Linked DNA regions of Homo sapiens: region 2 is linked to region 1. The links are contacts of gene promoters, found by promoter capture Hi-C in human tissues and cell types (Jung and others, 2019). All regions are on one chromosome and are shown on one strand. Each heading gives the region's core, a stretch centred on a gene start or on the middle of the fragment in contact. The rest is flanking DNA. Distances are from core to core; before and after follow the strand shown. Region 1 holds the start of RGS10 (regulator of G protein signaling 10). Region 2 has its middle 10 kb from the start of BAG3.

The links. The method cuts DNA at HindIII sites, captures the fragments that hold promoters and counts their contacts. A contact is called where the count stands out against the background at its distance.
Region 2: a contact is called between a fragment that was not itself captured here and the fragment with the promoter of RGS10 in region 1, in 2 of the 25 tissues and cell types used here (spleen and stomach).

What each region holds. Positions count from the first base shown.
Region 1 is chr10:119,540,467-119,546,486 of GRCh38, forward strand. It overlaps RGS10 (regulator of G protein signaling 10), which reads right to left and starts at 2,253. Exons shown (of 5, transcript NM_001005339.2): 1 at 2,124-2,253. The coding sequence starts at 2,172. RefSeq lists silencers at 1,706-1,875, 1,926-2,665, 2,676-2,745, 2,796-2,955 and enhancers at 3,166-3,245, 3,508-4,016. The HindIII fragment of the contact is 18,481 bases long and covers 1-6,020 here.
Region 2 is chr10:119,638,065-119,643,877 of GRCh38, forward strand. It overlaps the pseudogene RPS8P4. Among named protein-coding and RNA genes, the nearest start is that of BAG3, 10 kb to the right of the region's middle. The HindIII fragment of the contact is 5,300 bases long and covers 1-4,433 here.

The sequences.
Region 1 (6,020 bases), core at 1,003-3,502:
ATCTGGAACTCCTGGGCTCAAGCAATCCTCCTGCCTCAGCCTCCCAAAGTGCTGGGATCACAGGTGTGAGCCACTGAGCCCGGCCTGAGACCGACCTTTCTGTCAGTGATGTAACCACATTTTATGAGGTTTAAAATTTGTTGCCCTGAAATAATTTGTTCCCTAAAACTGCCTTCAGCCTTTTTGGGGTGCAACCTGGCTACACGCAAAATCACCCCAAATCCATGTATCTCCCAGGATACAATGGTTCTATCTGTCAGTCTTCAACCCAAAAGCAATCTAAAGTAATAAGTAACGCGTACAGGGCTATTCATAGCAGCTCTATTTATAACAGGCAAAAGGGAGAAAAGCTACTAATTATTACACTTTTATTATGTGCCACACATTGTACTAGGGGCTTCATATGGTTTTGAGTATTTAATCCCATAACCCTATGAAACCCACTTTGCAGGTGGAGAAAGGTGCTGGAACATCAGCTCTCCTGAGTCAAAATGAAGCCTTCATTTTTAGCTTTGTTGATTTTCATGATGTAAATATCCCATCATAACTACTTTCAAGCTACCTATGGTTTACAACCAGTTTCCAAACTTTTTGAATATTTGGCAACTGGCTCTTGCAAGCCAGTTTGAGCCAGCTCCAGCACATCACTGAAACGGAGGCACAGAGAGATCAAGTAATTTGCCCAGTGTTGCTGAATGACAGAGTCAAGGTTAGAACCAAGAGTTTAATTCGAGTCCAGGCTCTGAGCAGCGCTCCACAGGCCTGTGCCAACCATAGAGACTGGTTAACATTAACACCCACAAGGGAATTCTTTGACTCACATGCAACACAAAAAGGTTTACATGACCACTAACGCTAACGGAGCACTTAGTACTTGCCGGGCAACAATGTAAGATCATTACAACAACCCTATGAAATCCTACATATTAAATACAATAATTTGCAAAACCTGATGGATGGAAGACAGGTTCCAATTAAGTACTTTAAAAGGCGAGTAGCTACTGTTATTCCCACTGTGCAGAACCTCATTCTGCAGAAAGGTCCCACGGCTGGTGAATATGGCGAAGGTGAGATTCGGATCCAGCCAGTCTGGTCCCAGTCTCTAAACCACAATGTCCCTCATAAAATACCAGGAGCAGAAAGGAAATGCACCAACGCGTTGGGACTCTGAGCGCCAAGCAGAAGTGAATCTTGGCGTGGGAAGCCCGGCAAAGCCCCCGAACTTCAGAGTCAGGGGAACCTGGGTTTGAAAGCCTCCCCATCACCTGCGGAGTGTGACTGGGGCAAGTTACCTAACAGCGCCTGGCTTCCGCTCCCTCCTCACTCACCGGGTTGTCCTAGGGGTGAAGGGAGAGTTCACCCAACGCGGTGGACAAAGCCCTTGGCGCACCCAAAGGCCTGCACAGGTCGTAGCTATTGTGATGAGCAAAAGGGTGGAAGGACCGGAATCAAGGGCACGGCTCCACCTTCACCGTGGGGTCTTTGGCCTATCAAGTTGCCCGAGATCGTGGCTCAGGCTGGCCCAAAGTGACGGCCAAGGCGAATCCTTCGTAACGTCAGAACTTCGCTGGCTCGGACCGCAGAAGTGCCCTTCTCCATCCTGGGGTTCCGCCACCCTCGCGATCCCACCTTTTGGCTCCTCGCGGCAGAAGCGAAGGCCCCCGACGCCCCAGGCCCAGGGGCCCAGTCGGATGCCCGGGTCCAGCCGTGCTCCCCCGGGCGCTCGGCATCCTTCCACCCACGCCCGCAGCGGAGGCGGAGAGCGTCACGGAGGGAGAAGCCCGCGCGCCGTTCCGCTTTCGGAATCTGGAGCCCCATGTCACCTCCAAAGTTTGGAGATTTGGGGCGCTCCTTTTTCTCCCAGACCATCACTAAAAAGAAAACTGCGGCTGTTCCTCTTTCAGCCAAACTTCCTCCCCGGGGCTCCCGGAGGAGCTCTGCGCTCCCGTCGCGGCTGGGACCGCGAAGGTGCGGTACCCAGCGGGGAGAGGTGGTGCGGTCGGCCGGGGCTCCAGTCTGGGAGGTACCACCGAGCCGCGCCCGAGCACAAGAGGGAGGGCAGGAGGCCGGGCGGGCGAAACGGCGCCCCGACCCCGAGCCCGCGGGCCCCCGAAGCCGCTTACCTGACGGCGGCCGCTTCCTGCTCAGCCGGCTCACGGCGCGGTTGAACATCGCCGCGGGCGCCCGAGGAGGAAGAAGGAGCAGCCCGGCGGCGCGGCGGCTGAGCCGGAGGAAGGCGAGGAGGAGGAGGAGGGCGAGGAGGAGGAGGAGGAGGGCAAGGAGGAGGAGCGGGCTCAGCACCGCCCCGGAGCTCTAGGTCCCCGCCCGCCGCCCTCCTCCTAGCCAGGCGCCGCGTGGCGCGCTCAGTGCGCCCTGCCCGCCCCCGCTGGTGAGGACTCGCGGTTCCGCTCCGGGGTGCCCGGGCGGGGCAGGGCAGGGCAGCCCCGGGTGACCCCCGATCGCCCAGAGTGTGCCCCGCGCCTGGGATAAGGTGCACTGGCCCAGAGGGAGCCCGCGCCGCCGGGAACTTAGTAGCCCCGCGGAGGCGGTTAGCGCGTCCCGGGGTCCCTGGCCCTCGCCTGAGATGCCGCCCCGGCCCGCCCCGCCCAGCTTCAAGCTCCCGGGCCCATCGCGGTCTCCCGCCTTCTCCCTGTAGCCCCGGAGAAACTGGCACGGCGCCGCGGGCGCACCGCGCTTCGGGGCTCTCAGCGAGCCTTCGCAGGTGGCGGGCGGGGTCCCCTCCCGGGTCACAGGCTGGGAAGCCTAGGCCTCGCGGTTCTGCAGAGTCCGGGCGCGGCCCAGCCTGTGGCCTTTGCCTCCTCGTCACCAGGATCCCCGCCTGCTGGGGCCTGGCTGCTCCTCGACTTCGTGGGCGCTGCGCCTTCCCGCCCCGCGAATGCGGGTGGGGCGTCCCCAGGGCCCGTGCGCTGAGCTAGCCGAGCCGCCGCGGGTGGGCGCCCTCTCCCCGGCCGTGCCGCGCGGGCGCCAGGACTCGGGGAGATCTGAGAGGATTCTGCAGGAACCCCCCGGTTCCTGCGCCGGGCGGTGCTCTGTCCCGCACACCGCGCTCTCGGGACACTTCTCTAACTTTGGGGACACGTGGGCACTGCCTCTGGCAGGGCCTTCAGGCTCCACGACCGGGACCACTCAAGCCCCCACGGCGTCACCTGCTGGGCGCTGCGCGCTCTACGGTCTCCTATTATTTCATTTCTTCTATGGAGCAGCCCCAGAGGGGATGTCATTAGCCCCCATTTTCTTGAACATTTGGTTTGCAAGAAATTGTCTTTCTGGCGAGTTTTATTTTTCTCCTTGTGTATCTGGCTTTGTCTCTAAATTGGTCTTTATTTTTAGCTGTACTAATTGCTATTTTTCCAAACCGTTCCCCAGTCGCCCTCCCCCCATCCCCCCGTCCTTTTGCAGTTTTTTTCACTACTTGGCACTTTCTTTTGTATCTTCTATTCTGAGCTTCCAGTTCTGCTCACTTTCCCTCTCCCTCTACCCACCCCACAGCCCCAGTTGCACCCCAAGTGTGGCCGGTGGTTGCTTGTTGTTTCCCTCCCCGCTATTCCCCCTCCAAAAGTCGTTTTCCTCCGAGCATTTCCAAGCACTCTCCCCCTTCTGCTGCCAAAAGAGGATTTCCAGGCTCCTGAAGCGAACGCGGTGACCAAGAACAGGGTTAGACCCAGCGCGGGGAGTTCTGCTTTTAAAACTGCTGTTGTTGGCCTACTCCGGGCCCAGACAAACTTCCATCTCATTGTAATGGGATCAAGCTGTGATACTTAACTATAGGCAAGAGTTTCACCTTTCGTAAGAGCGGGATTTTAAATGCTGGCAGAGTCCTGGATCCAAGTGAGGTCACTGCGTTCTTAAAACAATAAGGGAATTGGTGCAACGCACTCACCCAGAAAACTTCCCCGAGACCAAATTACAAGTAATCCTAAGACAGGAAATAAGCACACTGGCACACAGGGGTAAAAGTTAGGCACAGCAGCTCAGTGTTTTGCTAGTTGCCAAGTCCACCCTAGCGTGTCCTGAAAAACACTGGTGTGGCTTAAGACATGCTATGAATCCCTCCTGAGCTAAGAACCCCAGGCATCTCTTAAATAAAGGGAAAATATAACAGCCTTAAATCACTTTTACTGTCCTGTTAGCACATCAGAGAGTAAGTACAAAAATTAAGATGCATAGTTAGGGCCAGGCGCTGTGGCTCACGTCTGTAATCCCAGCACTTTGGGAGGCAGAGGCAGGCGGATTACCTGAGGTCAGGAGTTCAAGACCAGCCTGGCTAACATGGTGAAGCCCCATCTGTACTAAAAATACAAAAATTAGCCAGGCCTGGTGGCAGGTGCCTGTAATCCCAGCTACTCAGGAGGCTGACACAGAAGAATCACTTGAGCCTGGGAGGAGGAGGTTGCAGTGAGCCAAGATCTGAAGGAGGAGGTTGCAGTGAGCTGAGATCTCACCACTGCACTCCAGCCTGGGCCACAGAGCAAGACTCTGTCTCCAAAAAAAGGAAAAAAAGGCCGGGTGCGGTGGTTCACACCTGTAATCCCAGCACTTTGGGAGGCCAAGGCGGGCGGATCACCTGAGGTCGGGAGTTCGAGACCAGCCTGACGAACATGGTGAAACCTCATCTCTACTAAAAATACAAAATTAGCCAGGCGCGGTGGCAGGCATCTGTAATCCCAGCTACTCAGGAGGCTGAGGCAGGAGAATCGCTTGAACCCGGGAGGCAGAGTTTGCAGTGAACTGAGATCGAGCCATTGCACTCCAGCCTGGGTGACTGAGCAAGACTCCATCTCAAAAAAAAAAAAAAAAAAAATGCATGGTTAACGTTTAAGTGCACAGTTTAAAATTTTTGCCTGGGACATTGAAATTGCTATAAATACCTGTTTTAAGTGTCTGAAGGTTCAAAAGCCAGTTTTCAAAGTGTATTGTGCAAAAGACCACGTATAAAAGTATAAAGCCTCCTAACTCCTAAAACTCGCCAAATGCACACACACATACACACACACACTCACACACACACACACACACACACACACGATTAAGTTCCAACCGTGGTTTGCATTGGATTGAAGGTGCTCACCATCCCAATGGCATTTTTCCTGTAATTCCAGCATGCACTTTCTGAAGCTTTTTTTTTTTTTTTTTTTTTTTTTTGAGACAGAGGTTTCACTATGTTGTCCAGGCTGATTTCTGACTTCTGGGCTCTCAAGTGATCCTCCCTCCTTAGCCTCCTAAGTCAAGCCTTCACAAACAAACTGCGGTAGCCAGTGTGGGGAAGAAGAGGATGAGCGGTTTAGCCCCTTTCTTCCCCTGCTGGTCTCACTTTTGGTTCAAGGATGTTTACATCAGGCAAGAAGCAAGAGCCCCGGATGTCTTCTGGTAACACAAGATTTCAGAGGGATTACTGGCTTTGGAGTTCAATATTTTCATTCTACCCAGAAACTAAAATATTGGTAAGCTGTGAATACATTTTAGAGCCTCTCATCACCAGAATTTATGTAACAAGACTATTCTAGGCCAGTTGAGGCAGACAAGGTATAGTAAAATGAATAAGTGGCCAACTTAAAGTCAAGAGACCTGGGTACTAATCTGACCAAACAGCAACCAGCTGTGTGGACACACCAGATGTGTCCTCAAACACATCGTAGCCTCAAGGGACAGGGCAAGGAGAGGTCCACCTACACTCCGAGCAAGTGGTATTCAATAGCAATAAACAAAAAAGCATCTGGCATCGTGCCCAGCACATGTAGGCACACAAAAAATTACTGGAATTTTAATTACTCTTACTCCCCCTACAATGATGTTTTAATAAATGATAAACTTTATGGTACAGCCAGTCAAAAGTGGATTTCTTTTCAATTATAGGAAATTGGCAGGGTTAGTAACACTGATGTTCACATTGTTACTACACTGTGAAGGAGGGAAAGTAAATTGTTACAACCTCTCTAGAAGGAAGAGAAGCAGATGTGTTAATATATGTATTTGACAACACATGTAAGAGTCTTCAAAAT
Region 2 (5,813 bases), core at 534-3,033, 97 kb after region 1:
GTGGGCGGATCACGAGGTCAGGAGTTCAAGACCAGTCTGGCCAACATGGTGAAACCCCGTCTCTGGTAAAAATACAAAAATGAGCCAGGAGTGGTGGTGGGTGCCTGTAATCCCAGCTACTTGGGAGGCCGAGGCAGGAGAATCGCTTGAAACCACAAGGCGGAGGTTACAGTGAGCCGAGATCGCACTGTACTCCAGCCTGGGCAACAAGAGTAAAACTCTGTCTCAAAAAAAAAAAAAAGAAAAAAAAGAAAAGATGCTCAATTACACTCATCATAATAGAAATTCAAATTAAAAGCATAAGGGGAATATATCAGATTGGCAAAGATCAGAACATTAGCTAACACGGTCCGGTAAGATCATGGGGCCTCTTTCCAGCCAGCGCCGAGTGATGGGCATCTCTCAGGACAACTGGCACAAGCGCCGCAAGACTGGCAGCAAGAGAAAGCCCTACGACAAGAAGCGGAAGTATGAGTTGGGGCACCTGGCTGCCAACACCAAGATTGGCCCCCACCACATCCACACAGTCCGTGTGCGGGGAGGTAACAATAAATACGGTGCCCTGAGGCGGGACATGGGGAATTTCTCCTGGGGTTCAGAGTGTTGTACTCGCAAAACAAGGATCACTGATGTTGTCTACGATGCGCCCAATAGCAAGCTGGTCCGTACCAAGACCCTGGTGGAGAACTGCTTCGTGCTCACTGACAGCACACCGTACCACCAGTGGTATGAGTCCCACTATGCGCTGCCCCTGGGCTGCAAGAAGGGAGCCAAACTGACTCCTGAGGAAGAAAAGACTTTAAACAAAAAACGATCTAAAAAAATTCAGAAGAAATACGATGAAAGGGAAAAGAATGCCAAAATCAGCCGTCTCCTGGGGGAGCAGTTCCAGCAGGGCAAGCTTCTTGCATGCGTCGCTTCAAGGCTGGGACAGTGTGGCCAAGCCCATGTCTATGTGCCAGGGGGCAAGGAGATGGAGTTCTATCTTAGGAAAATCAAGGCCCGGAAAGGCAAATAAATCCTCATCCTTTCTGTCTTTGCCCATGGAATAAAGGTGTCTATTGTTCTGTGGCAAAAAAAAAAAAAAAAAAAAAAAAAGTCATGGGGAACGTGCACTCTGAACGCTACTGGTGCGAGGCTGACCTTCCCTGACCTCCTTGGAGACAAATTTGGCAAAATAACTTAAATTTTAAAACGCATTGGCCTGATGATGGAGCACTTCCACTTCCAGGTATTGATAGACCTACTCGTACTTTCTTGCAAAATGACCTGTGCACAAGAAAATACACTGAAGGCCAGGCACGGTGGCTCATGCCTGTAGTCCCAGCACTTTGGGAGGCTGAGGCAGGTGGATCATTTGAGGTCAGGAGTTTGAGACCAGCCTGGCCAATGGTGAAATCCCATCTCTACTAAAAATACAAAAAAATAAGCCAGGCATGGTGGTGCACGCCTGTAATCCCAGCTACTTGGGAGGCTGAGGCAGGAGAATCACTTGAACCCAGGAGGTGGAGGTTGCAGTGAGCCGAGATCATGCCATGCACTCCAGCCTGGGTAACAGAGTGAGACCCTGTCTGTCTGTCTCTGTCTCAATCTCTCTCTCTCTTTCTGTCTCTCTCTCTCTCTCTCTCTCTCTCTATATATATATATACATATATACACACACACACACACACACAATGCAGCATTGTTTGTAATAGCAGAAGATTGGAAACTATCTAAATATCTATTAATAGGAGACCAGTTCAATAAATTAGGAAGTACTGTACAGTCACTTAAAGGAGTAAAGAGGCTCTGTGTGGAGTGATATGGAAAATTTCACAGGAACATTGTTAAGTAAAAAGAGGAAGGTGAATGCCAGTGCACATGGCTATCATTTTACGAGTAGGAAGAACGTGCACATATATGTTGGTAAATGAATGGGAGACCCCCTGGAAAAACACCCAGTAAGCTGGAGACATTGGTTGCCTCTAGAGCAGGGAACTGGGAAGCTGGGGAGCATAGAGGAAGGGAAGTTTCTTTTTCTTTTCTTTTCTTTTTTTTTTTTTTTGAGACAGAGTCTTGCTCTGTGACCCAAGTTAGAGTGCAGTAGCATGATCTCGGCTGACTGCAACCTCCGCCTCCTGGGTTCAAGTGATTCTCCTGCCTCAGCCTCCCAATGAGCTGGGATTATAGGTGCCACCATGCTGGGCTAGTTTTTTGTGTTTTTTTTTTGTTTTTTTTTTTTTTGTATTTTTAGTAGAGACGGGGTTTCACCATGTTGGCCAGGTTGGTCTTGAACTTCTGACCTCAGGCAATCAGCCCACCTCGGCCTCCCAAAGTGCAGGGATTACAAGTGTGAGCCACTGAGACTAGCCGGGAGGTTTATTTTTCATCGAGTACCTGTTATGGGTTGAATTGTGAACCTCCCCCACCCCCGCCAAGTTATATGTTGAAGTCCTACCTCAGGACCTCAAAATGTGAGTGTATTTGGAAATAGTGTCATTGCAGATGTAATTAGTTAAGATGAGGTCATACTGGAGTAGGGTGGGCCCCTAATGTCCTTGTTGAAAAGGGAGAATTTGAGGCTGGGTGCAGTGGCGCATGCCTGTAATCTTAGCACTTTGGGAGGCTGAGACAGGAGAATCACTTGAGCCTAGGAGTTCAAAACCAACCTTGGCAACACAGTGAGACCCCATCTCTATATAAAAAAGAAAAAAGAAAAGGAGGCGGCCGGGTGTGGTGGCTCATGCCTCTAATTCCAGCACTTTTGGAGGTCGAGGCGGGGGATCATCTGAGGTCAGGGGTTTGAGACCAGCCTGGCCAATATGGCAAAATTCTGTCTCTACTAAAAATACAAAAATTAGCCAGGCATGGTGGCAGGTGCCTGTAATCCCAGCTACTGGGGAGGCTGAGGCACAAGAATTGCTTGAACGTAGGAGGCAGAGGTTGCAGCGAGCCGAGATCATGCCACTGCACTCCAGCCTGGGCAACAGCGCGAGACTCTGTCCCAAAAAAAAAAAAAAAGGGAGGAATTTGGACCCAGGCAGTCATACAGGAAGAATGCCATGTGAAAATGAAAGCAGAGATCAGCATGATGCCCAGCAAACTACTAGAAGCTAGGTGAGAGGCATGGAACAGAGTTTTCCCTTGCAGCCCTTAGAAGGCTCCAACCTTGCTGACACCTTGACTTGGACTTCTACAGTCCAGACCTGAGACAATGCATGTCTGTTGTTCTAAGCCACTTAGTTTGTGGTACTTTGTCCCAACAGCCCTAGTGAACTAATGCAGTCTCCTTTGGCACCTGGAGTTCTGTATCATGTGTATACTACTGATTATTGATTTAAAACTTTTTTCAACACAAATGTCTCCCGGAAGCCTTCCCAGATTCACTAGGCTGAGTTAGTTGCTCTGTCTTTTCGGCTCCCACAGCATTTTATCTGTATCTCTGCAATAGCACTTACCACGTTGTAATGTAACTTAACTCTTCACAGGGTTCTTGACTCCACAAAATCATTAACTCCTGAGCACAGAGGCTGAGCCTGTTTCATTCATCATTGTAATTCCAGAGACTGGCATCAAATGCTTGTTGGAGTGAATAAACAAATGGGTAACCAGACATTTTTCACTTCCCTCCTACATTCGTATCATTATTTATTGGTTTTTGGCTTGACAAGCTATCCATTCATTCATGTTTAGTCAGGGTGATATAATTGAAAACTGATCTTAAAGAAGAGGTCAGGAATGAAGGTGGTGACAGAGCCATGCTCTCTCTAGAAGACTCTAGGCGAGAATCCTACCTGCCTCTTCCAGCTTCTGGAGGTTGCAGACAATCCTCAGTGCTCCTTGGCTTACAGGTGCATCGCTCTGATCTCTGCCTTCATTGTCACATGGTCTTCTCCCTGTATGTCTGTGTCTCTGTATCAACATTTCCCTCCTTTTATTTTTATTTACTTATTTTTATTTATTTATTTTTGAGACAGAGTCTTCCTCTGTCACCCAGGCTGGAGTGCAGTGGCGCGATCAAGGCTCACTGCAACCTGCACCTCCAGGGTTCAAGCGATTCTCCTGCCTCAGCCTCCCCAGTAGCTGGGATTACAGGTGTGCACCACCACACCTGGCTAATTTTTTTGTATTTTTAGTAGAGATCGAGTTTCACCATATTGGTCAGGCTGGTCTTGAACTCCTGATCTCAAATGATCTGCCCGCCTTGGCCTACCAAAGTGCTGGGATTACAGGCATGAGCCATCGCACCTGGCCCCTCTTTTTATTTTTATTTTTTTGAGGCATAGGTCTCACTGTGTCACCCAGGCTGGAAGGCAGTGGCATGATACTGGCCCACTGCAACCTCTGCCTCCCAGACTCAAGCTATCCTCCCACCTCAGCCTCCCAAGTAGCTGGGACTACAGGCTCACATCACCACGCCCAGCTAACGTTTGCTTATTTTGTAGAGACAGGGTTTCGACATGTTGCCCAGGCTGGTCTCAAACTCCTGGACTCCAGGGATCTGCCTGCCTTGGCCTCCCAAAGTCCTGGGATTATGGTTATGAACTGGTGTCCTCTTCTTATGAGGACACCAGTCATTGGATTAAGGCCCACTCTAATCCAGTATGACCTCATCTCAATTTGATCGCATCTGCAAAGTAATCTCACATTCTGAGGTTGTGGGTAGATATGAACACATCTCACATTCTGAGATTGTGGGTAGATATGAACTTGTGGTGATACTATTCAATGCAGTTCAGCTGCTCAGCTAGGACTCACCTAAAAAAGAGAAGCAGCAAGAGGTGGAGGGCTGTTTTGCCTTGTGGTTAAATACAGGTTGCAGAATCAGCCAGACCTGGCTTCAAATCCTGGTTTTACCTGCTGGTCAGCTATGTGAGCTCAGGCAAGTTATTCAACATCTCCAAGCCTATTTCCTCAACCATGCAATGGGTTTAATAAAAGCCTGTGCTTCCTAGAGTTGCTGGGTAGATAAATGAGATCAGGACAGTGTCTGATATTAAAAAAAAAGAAAAAAGAAAAAAAATAGCTGAGTGCAATGGCTCTTGCCCATAATTCCAACACTTCGGGAAGCAGAGGCAGGTGGATTGCTTGAGGTTGGCAGTTCGAGACTAGCCTGGCCAACATGGTGAAACCCCATCTCTGCTAAAAACACAAAAATTAGCCAGTGTGGTGCCACACACCCATAATACCAGCTACTCAGGAGGCAGAGGTTGCAGTGAGCTGAGATCCCATCACTGCACTCAGCCTGGGCAACAGAGCGAGACTCCACCTCAAAAACTAAAAAGTAAAAAATAGTTAGCGTTTGATGCTAGAGTCCCCAGTACCATGGTTCCTGCCATTCTTTCAGGGAAGAATGTAGACAGTTAAATAGCTAAACAGGATGGTTTGTGATTAAAGGCCCAGGATGTACCTGCCACACAAGGTCAGAGAGCACAGGGCGACTGGGCTCAAGCAGGCACAGACTTTAACTTTTAATAACAAACAGATGCAAAGTTAGTGCTGCAATCTGAAACTCTGCAGCGAAGCCATATTGATTTCCCCTTCCACCTCCAGCAGGGCGTATTTATAGAGCTTATCATAGAAGTCTGCACAGTATAACCAGGCCGGACGTCTTCTATCCCCCTCAGTGCTAATACCTACTGCCTGTAGCCCTTCTCTCCCAGTGCACTCGACCATCAGGACATTAGAGAGAGGCCATGGCTTCCATCCAGATGGCCCTGGCCTCCTTTTATCTAGGCTGCCCCTAGTGGAAGGGCCCCCTGAGAGGGCATGGCTAGTGAAGGTGTGCATGGCTGCACGTGCCGATCTCTCACAACATCCCAAAAGCAAAA